Linked DNA regions of Homo sapiens: regions 2 and 3 are each linked to region 1. The links are contacts of gene promoters, found by promoter capture Hi-C in blood cells and fetal thymus (Javierre and others, 2016). All regions are on one chromosome and are shown on one strand. The core of a region is centred on a gene start or on the middle of the fragment in contact, and the rest is flanking DNA. Distances in the headings are between cores, read along the strand shown.

Region 1 (4,580 bases), core at 729-3,228:
ACTTTCCAACGAGAACACAATAGGCAAATGGAGCCCAGATTTTAACCTCACTCCAGAGGCTCTGCCACAATTATGCTCTACTGCCACAGTTAATCAACATTCACTCAATTCTGAGGTCAAAAAACATCCTTAAGACAGGCAAAACCGCCCACCTGCACCTAAACGTTCCTCAAAAAACCACTAATCTATGCAGCAAGAAAATCTGACTTTGATGATACACCACTATTAAATCTTAGATTTAAATAGTAAGTAAAATATGGTGTGGCAACCCCAGAGTTAGCACTCAACAACGGCAAGAAAACAAAAATTTAAAATGAACTTTGTGGACATTTCACTGGTCTCAATAAATAAATAAAATGAACTTGCTCCTTCCAGTCATCAAACCATGCTATCCTTGGTCAAACACCCATAGCACAACCACTCTAAGGAACTTTGGGTCTCACCTGCCATTTTTTGACCATGGAACACATTTTGTCACGGGTAAGATCCATGCCATGGAAGTTAGTCAGGCAGTTTTTACCCTGAACATCTTCAGTAATCAGCTTGAATTTTCTAAATGCAACTTCATCATTCTGCAAATCAGCAAGACTCACTTCAAACACACGACCCTTGAGACCATCAGATGCAATTTCTACAAAAGAAAAAAACAAGTATCTTAACATTTAGGAACCATATAAGCAAAGTCAAGCCTGTAAACTGAGGGTAGAAATTAAGTTAATGGTAAATTATAAAGACCTTAACCTTTGTTATCAAATCTATCCAGACACCAGTGACTTATCAACAGTACTTATTTGAAGCTCAGAACTACCCATGGCACATTTTCTTAATTCAAAAAGCACCATCTTGCTTCTCTCCAAGTGCTGTACTAAAAATGATCACCACAGGTGCCAAGGCTGCAACCAAGAGCTGACATTTCCTTAAAGTCTCCCACCACAGGACCAACAACAGACCAAGATGCCTGCTACAATATACAAGCGCCAACTTAAGGAAAATACAAACCAAGAATAAGCTACTTACTGGTTCCTTGGGTCCTGGTGACGAGCGTCTTTCCAATATTTCTTATATTGAACATAGCAGGTGCTTTCACATCATACCAATCTTTCTTAGAAAATGGATCAACCCTGGATTTTAAGAAGATGCTTAAGTTCCATTGCAGATCAATTCTTACTGTATTTTTCACTGTTAATGGTATTTCCCATTAATATTTTAAAAAGCTAACCGGCAATTTGATACCAAAGTATATCTCACAGTGAGGTGAGGGGAACAAACATAAATCTAGCTCTTCCCACTGTACGTTTCACTGCATGCATCAGACTTTGAAAGGTTATGTCCACTTCCCACCCTCATCGGTCCATCCACTACACAGGCACTTAGAATAACATGCATCGGTCCTTCCACTACACAGGCACGAGTAACATGCAATCTCATTAACTTTGCTGGCACGTAATGGCATGTACTGGTAACTAAGAGACTGCATGGCCCCAAAGCTTAGCAGGAGCTCGCAGATTCCAGCGGGACCAAGCAAAGGCGAGATTGACGGGTCCTGAATGGATAGAAGGGTGCTTTCCTCAACTCCTGCTGTCGCAGTGCCATCAAACACTCGCAGAATTGAGGCAGCTCGTGAGCCCACAAAACTAACATTCCAGCCGAGTCGCGCCGGCAAGCCGGCTCAAACGCGACGCGCGCAAGGACCAGAAGGCCTGGGAAAGGCAGCCGACCTGCCGCTACTCAACACCGACCCTCCAGGCCGCGTTCCTGGGTGCACCAACCCGCCACGGCCCGCACAATCCGACTGGAATCCTCGCCATCCGGCCTACGCCGCGATCTAGGACCAGCCCGCCGATTCCAGCAGACCCCCAAAAAGCAAGACGCCACGACAGTCGCGACTTACACTTTCTTCTTGGCTCCCTTTTTGCCGCCTTTCGTAAGGCGCTTGTTCTTGCCAACCGCCATGGTGCTGGTCAGAGAGCCAAAAGGGCGGAAGTGGGAGTCGCGCGAGAACTTAGGCGTACGGGGGCGGGGCGCGCCGTCTACGTGACCTTTGCCCTGTTATTCTTCCGGCCTCAAGAATTCCGGGACAGTAGAGAGCGCCACTCTTTCTACTGTGGTTGCGACATCGCCATCGTGTGTGGGGAGGCCGCGCGGCATGCCGCGGGCTCACTGGAGGCTGCGCTGTGTAGACCAAGGCGTCGGTGGCCTGACGTGCAGGCGTCTGGTTACCTGTGGTTTCTGTGGCTGTGACGTCGGGAAGTAAGTTTCTGTAAAACGAGACGCCCACTCAACATCGTTCAAAGCTGAACTCACCGTCTAACCCCCAAACCTGCTTTTTGAGAGCATTGGCTTTGGAGTCAGTCAGCGGATCTGATTCAAATGCCGGTTTCAACAGGGCTTTGCTTGAGACCGACCTCTCCACGCTTGTTTCCTCATGCGTAATATGGGGGTGATAAAACGGTCGGCTTCATGAGGTTTCATAGGGCTAAATGAGCATCACTCCAGAGATGCTAGCGACGTTCTGCTTGTTGATGTGGATGCTGGTTCATCTCAGGTGTTGTTGCTTTGTGAACATTCACTAAGCTCTACGCTTATTTGTGTCCTTTTCTATATGTCTGTTATATATTGATTAAAAGGTTTTTTTAAAATAGAGTGAGACCGAACTCGTTGGCTCACACCTGTAATCCCAGCACTTTAAGAGGCTGAGGCAGGGGAATCAACTGAAGCCAGGAATTGGAGACTAGCCTGGGCCACACAGCCAGACCCCGTCTTTACAAGAAAATGATAAAATTAGCAGGGCGTTGGCCGGGCGCGGTGGCTCACGCCTGTAATCCCAGCACTTTGGGAGGCTGAGGCGGGCGGATCGCCTGAGCTCAGGAGTTCGAGACCAGCCTGGCCAACATAGTGAAACCCCGTCTCTACTAAACATACAAAAAATTAGCCGGGTGGGTGCCTGTAATCCCAGCTACTCGGGAGGCTGAGGCACGAGAATCTGAGCTCAGGAGGCGGAAGTTGCAGTGAGCCGAGATCGCGCCATTGCCTGGCCAACAAGAGTGAAACTGCGTCAAAAAAAAAAAAGTGAGATCTCCAAATGTTTCCATTTTTGCAACTAATCCAAACCCGCCTCCCCCATTTTTTTTAACTGTAGGGGTTAACAGAGCACATCCTGGCAAGGTGTGGCTGGCTAGCTCAAGTGTGCAGCCCTCGGAAAGCATCTGGCCCATACAGGCTTGGTACTCAGCCAGTGGTGTGTTGAGTTCCCTTCTCTAACTTCCCCTCTGGCAGAAAACCCTGTGACCAAGCCAAAACCAACCCTTACTTACAAGGCCCCCTGCAAGCTTTTAAACTTACAATCCCTTCCAGTCCTGCTAGCCTCCATCCCCTACCTCCCACTACACCCACCCCCCAAGACAACCTTCCTAAACCTCTAGTAGGGTCCTGAAATCTTTCAGTAATTCCATAAATCTCAGTTGCCTGGAGGATAAATTCAAAGTCTTAGTTTCATAATAGTATGAATGTACTTAACACTACTGAACTCTACACTTAAAAAAGGTTAAGGTAGCCCTGCCAGGTGTCTCAGGCCGCTAGTTCCAGGTATTCGGAAGGCAGAGGCAGGAGGATCACTTGAGGCTAGGAGTAGGACTCCAGCCTGGGCAACATAGTGAGACCCCATCTCTTTTTTAAAAAGATGATTAAGATGGTTAATTTGGCCAGGTGGTGGCTCATGCCTGTAATCTCAGCACTTTAAGAGGCCAAGGCAGGAGGTTTTCTTGAGCTCAGGAGTTTGATACCAGCCTGGGCAACATTACAAGACCTAATCTCAACTAAAAATAAAAAAAAATTAGCCCGGCTTGATAGCTCATGCCTGTAGTCCCAACTACTCGGAAGGCTGAGGTAGGAGGATCCCCAGCACTTTGGGAGGCCAAGGCAGATGGATCACTTGAGGCCAGGAGTTCGAGACCAGCCTGGACAACATGGTGAAACCCCGTCTCTACTAAAAATACAAAAATTAGCTGGGCGTGGTAGTGCACACCTGTAGTCTCAGCTACTCGGGAGGCTGAGGTACGAGAATCGCTTGAACCTGGGAAGTGGAGGCTGCAGTGAGCCGAAATCACACCACTGCACTCCAGCCTGGGCTGGACAGAGTGAAACTCCATCTAAAAAAAAAAAATATATATATATATATATATATGTATGTATATGTATATATTATGGGCCCCCAGTCTGCCTACTCCAGCATAAAAACCAAACTTACCTTCTTCCTGGTCTGATTCCTCTTTCTGCCCAAGAGTGAAAGCCACAGGGAGAGACCTTAATGAAGTCAGCTGCATCTAATTTATTTTAGCAGCACCAGCACCTAAGGGATTTGTCAGAGGTCTGTATTTCAATCCTCAACTTTGTTTTGTAGTAAAAGCTTTAAAAATTTTCTATTAATATTTTTCTGACCCTTTACATTAAATGGTGCAATCAGCAGTTTTAATGTAATTGTGTTGAATAAAAGTTAGGGGGTGTGAAATTAGTTTATTGGGTCTCAACCATCATTTAATATTTTCAGATAGAATAAAATGGAACAGGCCAGGCACGGTGGT
Region 2 (4,580 bases), core at 658-3,157, 1.4 Mb before region 1:
AACCGTTATTTAACTTAGTCCTCACAGCAGTTCATATGAAATAGCTACTGATGTTTTATGGCAAAGGAAACAAATTCAGAGAAATTTCCAAGAACACATCGGAATTTTGACTTGCAGAACTGGGATTCAAATCTAGATCTGTCATACTCCATGGTCTATGCTTTTAATCATGCATGCTGTCTCTTAAGTTTTTATTGAAAATGGAAAGTTGTACTGACATAGGAGGGGAAAATGATAGAAAATCATCCTATTGGAAGGCAGATTAACAGACTCGTGAAGAAGCAATTCCCAGTTTTATGTCATTATACAAAATAATTGTGAAATTGAAGTCCGTCATTTGAATTGATTTGCATTAACCCTCATTTTTTAGTCTTGCTCTTGGAATCATCATCAGGACAGGTGTCCCAGATATGTTAGCAGTAGAATAAATTTATCTAGGCAAAATCTGTCTAAGATTATGGAGAAAACTGATTTTATATGTGAAATGTGTTGTTGAGTGAGAGTTAAATCTTTTGAAGGAGATTATTTCAGGATGAGCCTCAAATACATTATTTAGGATTTGAAAACCTATGGTTTAGCAGAAAATCTGAGAATCAACATTTGTTAGTCTCTTGGGTATAAATTGCTTAAGTCAGTGGGTATCTGATTATTCTTTCTTTCTTTCTTTATTTATTTATTTATTTATTTTTGAGACAGAGTCTCACTCTGTAGCCCAGGCTGGAGTGCAGTGGTGTGATCTTGGCTCACTGCAAGCTCTGCCTCCCGGATTCACGCCATTCTCCTCCCTCAGCCTCCTGAGTAGCTGGGACTACAGGCGCCCACCGCTACGCCCTGCTAATTTTTTGTATTTTTAGTAGAGACGGGGTTTCACCGTGTTAGCCAGGATGGTCTCGATCTCCTGACCTCGTGATCCACCCACCTTCACCTCTCAAAATGCTGGGATTACAGGCATGAGCCACCACGCCTGGCTTCCCTTATGTAATTTCTTAAACTATTTTTGTTTGCTGATTTGGTGTTTGTAATTTAAAAAAAATTTATTTTTTCTTCTTTTACATACTTTGTAGAACTATTCCCTACCCAGTGAGTTTATTTATAGATATTTCATATTTAATTAATACTGTGAGAACATAGTTTTTATATCTGTATTTTTGTTTTTTCATTAGGATATTTAAAATAATTTTTGTAATTCTGTTACCTTAAAAAGAGCTAAACTTAGATGTTGGCCTTTAAAAATGTTTTGTGAAAGATTTTCTCTTGGTTCCATTTAAAATACTGTATTTGTAACTATAGTTAAATACATTTGAACTTTGCCCTTTTCAGAAATTTTAATTATATGCCTTTATAAAATTTTATCAAAAGTTACATGCAAATACTAAGTATAGAGTGCTGAAGCTGAGCGTGATGGCTTATGCCTATAATCCCAGTTACTCGAGAGGCTGAGGCAAAAGGATTGCTTTAGGCCGGGAGTTGGAGACCAGCCTGGGCATCATGGCAAAACCTTGTCTCTACAAAAATAAAATAAATTAGCTGGGTGTGGTGGTGTGCACCTGTAGTCCTAGTTACTTGGGAGGCTGAGGTGGGAGGATGGTTTTGAGCGTAGTAGTTCAAGACTGTAGTGAGCCAAGATCCTGCCACTATACTTTAGCCTGGGTGAGAGAGCAAGACCCTGTTTCAAATATATAAATAAATAAAATAGTAGGCTGGGTGCAGTGGCTCATGGCTGTAATCCCAGCACATTGGGAGTCCAAGGCGGGTGGATCACTTGAGGCCAGGAGTTCCAGACCAGCCTGGCTGGCATGGTGAAACCCTGTCTCTACTAAAAATAGAAAAATTAGCTGGGTGTGGTGGTGCGTGCCTGTAATCCCAGCTACTCTGGAGGCTGAGGCAGGAGAATTGCTTGAACCCGGGTGGTGGAGGTTGCATTGAGCTGAGATTGCACCATTGCACTCCAGCCTGGGCGACACAGCGAGACTTTGTCTTGAAGAAAAAAAGAAAAAAATAAGTATTGAGTGCTGAATGATGTTCTATAAAAGATTAAAAATGCCTAAGTGGAACTAAATTCTGGTAAATAGAATTTAGGGGTTGGGGTAGAAAGAATCAGATAAGTACTTCAAGATTTTCAGACTTTAAGTCTAAGGCTCATTAGTATCCTCTGACATAATCTACTACAGGTTTCCTTTCTTAGAAGTGAATGTTAATATGGCACCACTATACAAATAATATCGATATCGGTATTTGAGTGTTTATTATGTGACAGGCACTGTTCTGTGTCCTTCATGTGTATTACCTCATCCAGTCCTCACGATAGCTCTATGAGGTAAGTGTTGTTAATATCCCTATTTTATAGCTGAAAATTTGGCATAGAGAAGTTAAACATGGTCAAGGTCCCACCTTTAGTTAATAGTGGAGCTGGGATTGTTTCCAGGCAGTCTGGCTCTAGAGCCTGGGACCTTAATCTTTATTCTATACTGTCTGTGTCATCTGTAAATTTATTTCTTATATATTATTTATAGAACAGTGCCTGGCACACAATAAGAGCCATAGAAGTACTGGCTATTTTCATTGGCATTTAATTATATATGAGGTTGGCAGAGCATGCATTATTATTCCATTTGTTTATTTATACTATTAATTAGATAGTAGACTTTATTCAGATTTCTGTGTTTCCTTTTTTTAAATAGTCGAGTTTACCGAAGTTCTTAGAAACTGGATGATTGCCTCCAATAATGTGGCCATGCTAGATCTCAAAATTAACTTTTTTAAAAAAACCACCCCTCCAACTTTATTTACACTTCCTTAGAAATGGATAAAGACCAAGATTGGGCTTCTGTTTTGATATGTCATTGGTTTAGAAAGGCAGAAACAGCCTGGCACGGTAGCTCATGCGTATAATCCTAGCACTTTGGGAGGCTGAGGCGAGTGGATCGCTTGAGCTCAGGAGTTCGAGACCAGCTGGACAACATGGCGAAACCATCTCTACTGAACATACAAAAATTAGCTGGGTGTAGTGGCACTTGCCTGTAGTCCCAGCTACTTGGGAGGCTGAGGCAGGAGGATTGCTTGAACCCAGGAGGTCGAGGCTGCAGTGAGCCAAGATGGTGCTACTGCAGTCCAGCCTGGGTGACAAAATAAGACCCTGTCTCAAAAACAAACAAAAAAAGCGGAAACAACCATACTAAGTTTACAGTATTGTTTGTGTGCCTACTTGGTGGAAGAAATAAATTCTTAGAAGTTACACTTTCTTTAAAAAATTAAAAATTAAAAACTGTGCAGTGTTGAGATTAGTATTACCGCTTATCTTGCTGACTTGTGAAATTGAATTACATCACTTATAATAATGTGAAGTTTTAGAAATTGTTTTGATGATAAAGAGTAGCAGCCTTTAAGAGAAATAATATAAACCATGTTTCCTCAAATCTAAATGGTCATCTGTATGGTATTAGTTTTCCATCGCTCTACAGAAGCAGTCCCCAGCCTTTTTGGCACCAGGGACCATTTTTGTGGAAGACAGTTTTTCCGTGGATGCGGGGAAGGAGAGGCAGTGGGGAATGGTTTGGGATGAATCATCAGGCATTAGGTTCTCTTAAGGAGCACCTAACCTAGATGCCTTGCATGCACAGTTCACAATAGTGTTTGTGCTCCTATGAGACTCTAATGCCACAGCTGATCTGACAGGAGGCGGAGCTCAGGCGATAATACTCCACCTGCAGCTCACCTCCTGCTGTGCGGCCGGGTTTCTAACAGGCCACGGACCAGTACCAGTTGTGGACCCCTGCTCTACAGCAAATTAACACAAATTTAGCAGCTTATCTTACAGTTTCTATTGGTCAGGAATTTGGGTATGGTTTAGCTGGGTCTTTCCTCAGGTTCTCACTAGGCTGAAATTAAGGAATCAGCCGGGGCTCCTATCTCTTCTGAGGCTCTGGGTTCTCCTCCAGGCTCACCGGTTGTGGGAAGAGTTCAATTCCTTGTTCTTGTAGATCTGATGTCCCTGTTTGCTTGCTGGCTGTCAGCCAGGGACCACTTTGAGCTCCTTAGAGGCCCACCCCCGCCACCATGTTCTTGCCATGTGGCCAAGTTATTATGTTGTGTATGACTAAGGAAGAAAAATGCTGGATTAAAATATAAGACAAATTCTTACTTTATGTATGACTAAGGAAGAAAAAATGTTGAATTAAAACATGATACAACACATTATTGCTTGGACAGTGCCTTGCAAAAAAAAAAAAAAAAGAGAGTTGTGGTTATTCTTCCAGCCACAATATCTGCTTCAGAAATGTCAAATTTATTTTCTACTGTTGTGTTTGTGTTCTTTTTTGTAAACAACTTTTTTGTTTCAATGCTGAATCATAGTATTTTACAGGACATTTAAAATTAAGAAGTAAGCGTGACTTCTTATTGTACTACTAAATGTACAGAATTTAGTAATAATTATGGTGATATAAACTGCCATTACCCAATTTGCAAGTGTACAGGGAATGACAGCTATGTTGTGACTGCCATGGGCAAATGGTGATTTGTAAAGCATTGTTGCTTTTTTCCCCCCATTTTAAGTTGATTTTATTGAGATATAATTTATA
Region 3 (4,580 bases), core at 855-3,354, 1.3 Mb before region 1:
TATTTTCAGTAAACAGTACAGTATTTAAAAGACTTCTATAGTCATACAGAAGGTGCTTTCCTTTATAAAATATTTTTAAAATAAAATCCTTTCTCAGTGGTTTCCTTGATACACATTTTGGGGCATGTTTATTCATTGAAGGATTTCTAAGATGGAAATAAAGTTTGCTTTTAGTGGCAAATGGTATTTGCACCAATGTTTTTTACAAGGTATCCTGGGAAGTTCTGAAAGCCAGTATTACAAACTTAATTAGAATAAATATCAAAGTTTCTCCTAATTATGAAGATAAGAATTTGTGGAAGTTATCAAAAAACTAGATTTTAACATAGTCTGTACTGACTGACCTTCCTGATGGATTCATTTGCATGTATGTTTATATATATATGTGTGTATCTATAAATTATATACACGGAAACACGTGGCTACCTATATACTTCAGCTTTTATATTTATATTTGCTTTTTAATAAAATTATTTGGAGAAAGAAAATAATGGTTTCTGAGAGGAATCACTTTAAAACAATGTAATGAGTATATAAACTTCTAAAGGGAAGAAACCAGCCAGATCAATTCCATTTCTTTCCAGTAGGTATGGCATGAACTAAGGTATAAATTGTAGGTGAGCTTGTTGTACCCTCACCTCTAGCCCCTAATGTCGTAAGATCATCCTAGTATTTTAGAAAACTCTTCGTGATGACAAAAACATGGTCTTTATTATTCAGTGTGGCTCTAAAACATTTTAAGTCTCTTTAGTATTTATATTGTATCATGCTATGTTATGATGTTCCCATGTAAGGCAAGAGGTAGGAAAATAAGGCTGCTGCAAAGCAAGGATTTTTACCTACTTATAAACATGAGGATAGCTCTCTATCACTTTGGAGTGTTTTTCCTCCTATAACTTGCAGTAATACAGTGATTAATTAGTGGACACAAATCTTAAAAAGGGGTTGTTGAAATGGAAAAAGTCAAATCTTACCAGATTTTATTTTCTAGTTTTAAAATATACATATAGTCAAATGAGAATATTTCAATATTGATGTTGACAAGAAACAATTCTGAATATATTTATAGTATAACATGGCATAATGAAACACCTTAAAATGTAGATTTTGGATACACCTTATAGAAGAGGCATAACTGATTCTTTTAAAACCTTTCTGTTGTTGCTTTTCAAATTAGAATATTTTGTCCTGAGTATCTGTCAATAGAGCTATATTCTGTATATATATCAATTGACAACTTTCCCCTCAGCGTTATTATACTATCTCCAGATTTCTCTTATTATTGATTTACTTTTTAAAACTGTCCTTATTGCCCATATTAATTGCTTTATGCCTTATCACTATTCAAGATTATTTATACTGCTCTTTACCCTCTTATAATGGTATGAGTGTTTAAAATTGAGTTTGTTACTTTCATAATTATTTCTGATTTTACAATTTTGAATTTTATCTTTATTAAAAACATGTTTTTAAAGAAAAATGATTCACGAGGAAGGCACGTTAAATATGATTATTTTCTGTGTGGATTAACTTGAGATTTTTCCCTATGTTGGTTATTAAATTGGAAAACATGAAAGATATATTATCTCAAGGAATATATATATATAATGAATATCAGTTTTCAAATCATCACACACTGTTCTTCTGGATAAAATATTAGGGGGGAAAATTCACCTTTCCATTCCATTCAGAGTAAAACAAAGTAGAACAAATAGAAGAAACTATGAAACATTTATTTTATATATTTAATTAACATTGTAGGCATATGAAAATTTAAGAATTTAAAATATTAACCATGCTGACTCAAGATTTGATAGTTAGACGATTTTTAAAAAACATATCTTGTTTGTTTTACCTTATAGATGAAAAGAAAGTTGGACCATGGTTCTGAGGTCCGCTCTTTTTCTTTGGGAAAGAAACCATGCAAAGTCTCAGAATATACAAGGTAATATTAAATATAATGATTATCTCATGATTCTCAGTTTTTTAGAGTTGATTCTGAAAGTGTTTTAGTTTATTCTTGTAGAATAATAATGTTACTAGTACGGTTGACTGTTTAACACATTTTGAGATTACCGGAAATTGAGAACTATATCATTTTAAATAAGAGGAATGCCACCTTAGTTTATGTTTTGTTACTAATACATTTTGAAGTAGGACACAAGCAGAAATTATCTTGTGAACAAAAATTTAAAATTACAATTTTTAAGGAATTCTAAAAAGTAAACCATAAAATATGAATATGAGCCCCTGTGTCTTGTTACTATAGGAACAGCTGTTCTAGGGTAGACATTTATGTATGGAAATTTGAAGATACATTTATTAGCAGTGAAGTAAAACAATTACTAACTCAATCTTATTTCATGAAATTAATGTGTTAGAAATTTTCTTTTATGGGCTTGGTAGGTCTTAAGTTTTTAACACATACATTTCTTTTCTATACCAGTAGAATAGTTTCCATAACAATGAAACATAATTGTAATCTTTTTCTACTTCAGTCCCCATTATTTTTGGATTTTACATCAGTATAAAACTTTTCCCACTCTCACAGTTATTAGGCTAACTTAAGCACAATGTCTATTGCCCAGCCAATTAAAAGTGGCTTTGAATGTCACTTGGAATGTCGTATTTTAAAATTTAAATGACAGAAGTATCTTAGAGCTTTTTTTTTTGGTCTTTAAAACAGAATTTTTTGTATAATTGCCAGTTTTTAAAATAAGTGATTGAAAGTTAACAGTAGAAACCATAAGAACTTCATGGTTATGACATTTCTTCCTTTCTCTCAAAATATTTCAATTTAGTTATTTTTATTCTATAAGATGCACTAAAATTAACATTGCTCAGATATAATTTTTTTATTGAACATTGTTGCAGATTGTGCCTCTTACAGAGAAATAGCTTGTTTTTATTTCAGTTGTAAAAAATATTTCTTTCAAATGCTGCTTTATGAAATTTGAAAATCATCATAATTGGAATAGTCTTACATTCAAAAAGTGAAGAGATAACACAGAAAAGAAAAATAAAGCTATCTCTTATTCAGGAGCTGCTTTTCGGTGTGATTTTTCTTATGTTAACTGTCCCCCTTCCTGTTACTCTTTGCCTTTTGACAGTTTTACTGTGTTTTGGCACTTCCACCAGAGGGTGTGGAGGGATAGAGAGACAAGTGAAACTATTCACTTCATTTTGCTTTTCCCTTCTAGTCATGATAAAGTATTTCTTGGATGAGAAATTTGCATTTAATGTTAAACTAACTGTTAATGCTATTTTTTAAATGTATCAGTCTTCTATTAATATGGCTGATACCAGGACAAAGGTATTACATTGTTCACTTGTTTTTAAGGCAGCTTAGAATAAATGAGTGCTGAATTTTTATTACAGAACACATTTTAGTAAAATTTGTCTTTAGTTGCTCACTTTTTATATTGACAAAGCAACTGAAAAGGCAGAAGTTTTATTTTTAGCCTGTTAATATATAATTTTATTAAAGCAAAATTAGACCAAACAGCATATTTATTTCCATGTTTTTCTGGAGACTCTCGGTTAGGAAGGTATATATTTGGTATTTTGTGATATTTTTGACAGATTTGCTAATAAGATAAAACTATGATTTTTCCATCAAAAATTTGTTATAAACATATCCTATTTTATTTTGGAGGAAAAGAAAATAGAACTTACCTTTGAATTTGAAAGAAGAAAAGATAGATTTAATTGCTGAATGTTAAAGATTGTCTTCGATTTATACTATTAGAGGATTTAAAGGGAGTAGATAAGAAGACTTTTCTGTAAAATCTGGTGACTGAGATACATTTTTTAACAAAATAATGCTGGATAGAAAAAAACAGCTGGAGGAGTTGTTTCATTAGTAATTTATCAGAGTTTGATTGTTAACTATTACGATGCAATTTGTAAGTGTTCTTTGAATTTAAAATAATTAATCAACATAGCTCAATGAATTGAGTGAGAATTTCTTTTCAAATATAATTTTGTTAAACCAGACCTTCCTGCTGCTTTTTTTCCAAGGTCTTTAAAATGGATACCCAATATTTACCTTGAGTTTAGTTTAATTACATGCAGAAATTAGAAAGGAAAGTTTAATACGTTAGTAATATAGTTATATATTCTTTCTGCTATTAATTGGTCATTTTTAGGGTAGTTAGTTTTAGAGAGATCATCTAGTCGTCCTCATTTTACTAGTGGCAGAATTGAATTTCAAGTTTGTTTGAGACAGTTAAATCTCAAAATTTAAATTATTGTATAAAAATGTTTAGATGATCTTATTTAGTTTTGCATATAAGTTCTTAATACTTACCTGTTTTGAATAAATGTATTTCTAATCAAGACTGAGTCCTGTCAACTATTCAGACCAAACTTTATAAATAGCAGTAAAAAATTAGAAATATTATAGACAATTTTGAAGGCATCTGAGGCAAACTTAAGGAATAATGTGATTCTTGAAATTCAAAACATTTGAACATAGTATTTCTATGTCTGAGTTTTTTAAAGCTTTAATAAAGTATCACAACCCTTTTTATAAAGAAAATTTAAACTTTACTTATGTCACCAAAGACCAGTCATAGGAG

The links. The method cuts DNA at HindIII sites, captures the fragments that hold promoters and counts their contacts. A CHiCAGO score of 5 or more calls a contact.
Region 2: a fragment that was not itself captured here is called in contact with the fragment with the promoter of RPS3A in region 1 in 1 of 17 cell types (neutrophils); the score reaches 6.9 in neutrophils.
Region 3: a contact is called between a fragment that was not itself captured here and the fragment with the promoter of RPS3A in region 1, in 1 of 17 cell types (fetal thymus). The highest score is 5.7, in fetal thymus.

The regions. Positions count from the first base shown.
Region 1 is chr4:151,097,026-151,101,605 of GRCh38, reverse strand. RPS3A (ribosomal protein S3A) reads right to left here and starts at 1,978. Exons shown (of 6, transcript NM_001006.5): 1 at 1,892-1,978; 2 at 1,018-1,121; 3 at 444-631. The coding sequence starts at 1,953. RefSeq lists enhancers at 1,055-1,638, 1,659-2,218, 1,639-2,223, 1,522-2,721, 2,999-3,068. The HindIII fragment of the contact is 1,842 bases long and covers 1,490-3,331 here.
Region 2 is chr4:152,515,407-152,519,986 of GRCh38, reverse strand. The region is part of intron 2 of FBXW7 (F-box and WD repeat domain containing 7); the gene reads left to right. Among named protein-coding and RNA genes, the nearest start is that of FBXW7, 18 kb to the left of the region's middle. RefSeq lists a silencer at 3,832-4,050. The HindIII fragment of the contact is 5,926 bases long and covers 1-4,580 here.
Region 3 is chr4:152,347,407-152,351,986 of GRCh38, reverse strand. It overlaps FBXW7 (F-box and WD repeat domain containing 7), which reads left to right. Exons shown (of 14, transcript NM_001349798.2): 5 at 1,863-1,945. Among named protein-coding and RNA genes, the nearest start is that of FBXW7-AS1, 12 kb to the right of the region's middle. The HindIII fragment of the contact is 4,803 bases long and covers 1-4,505 here.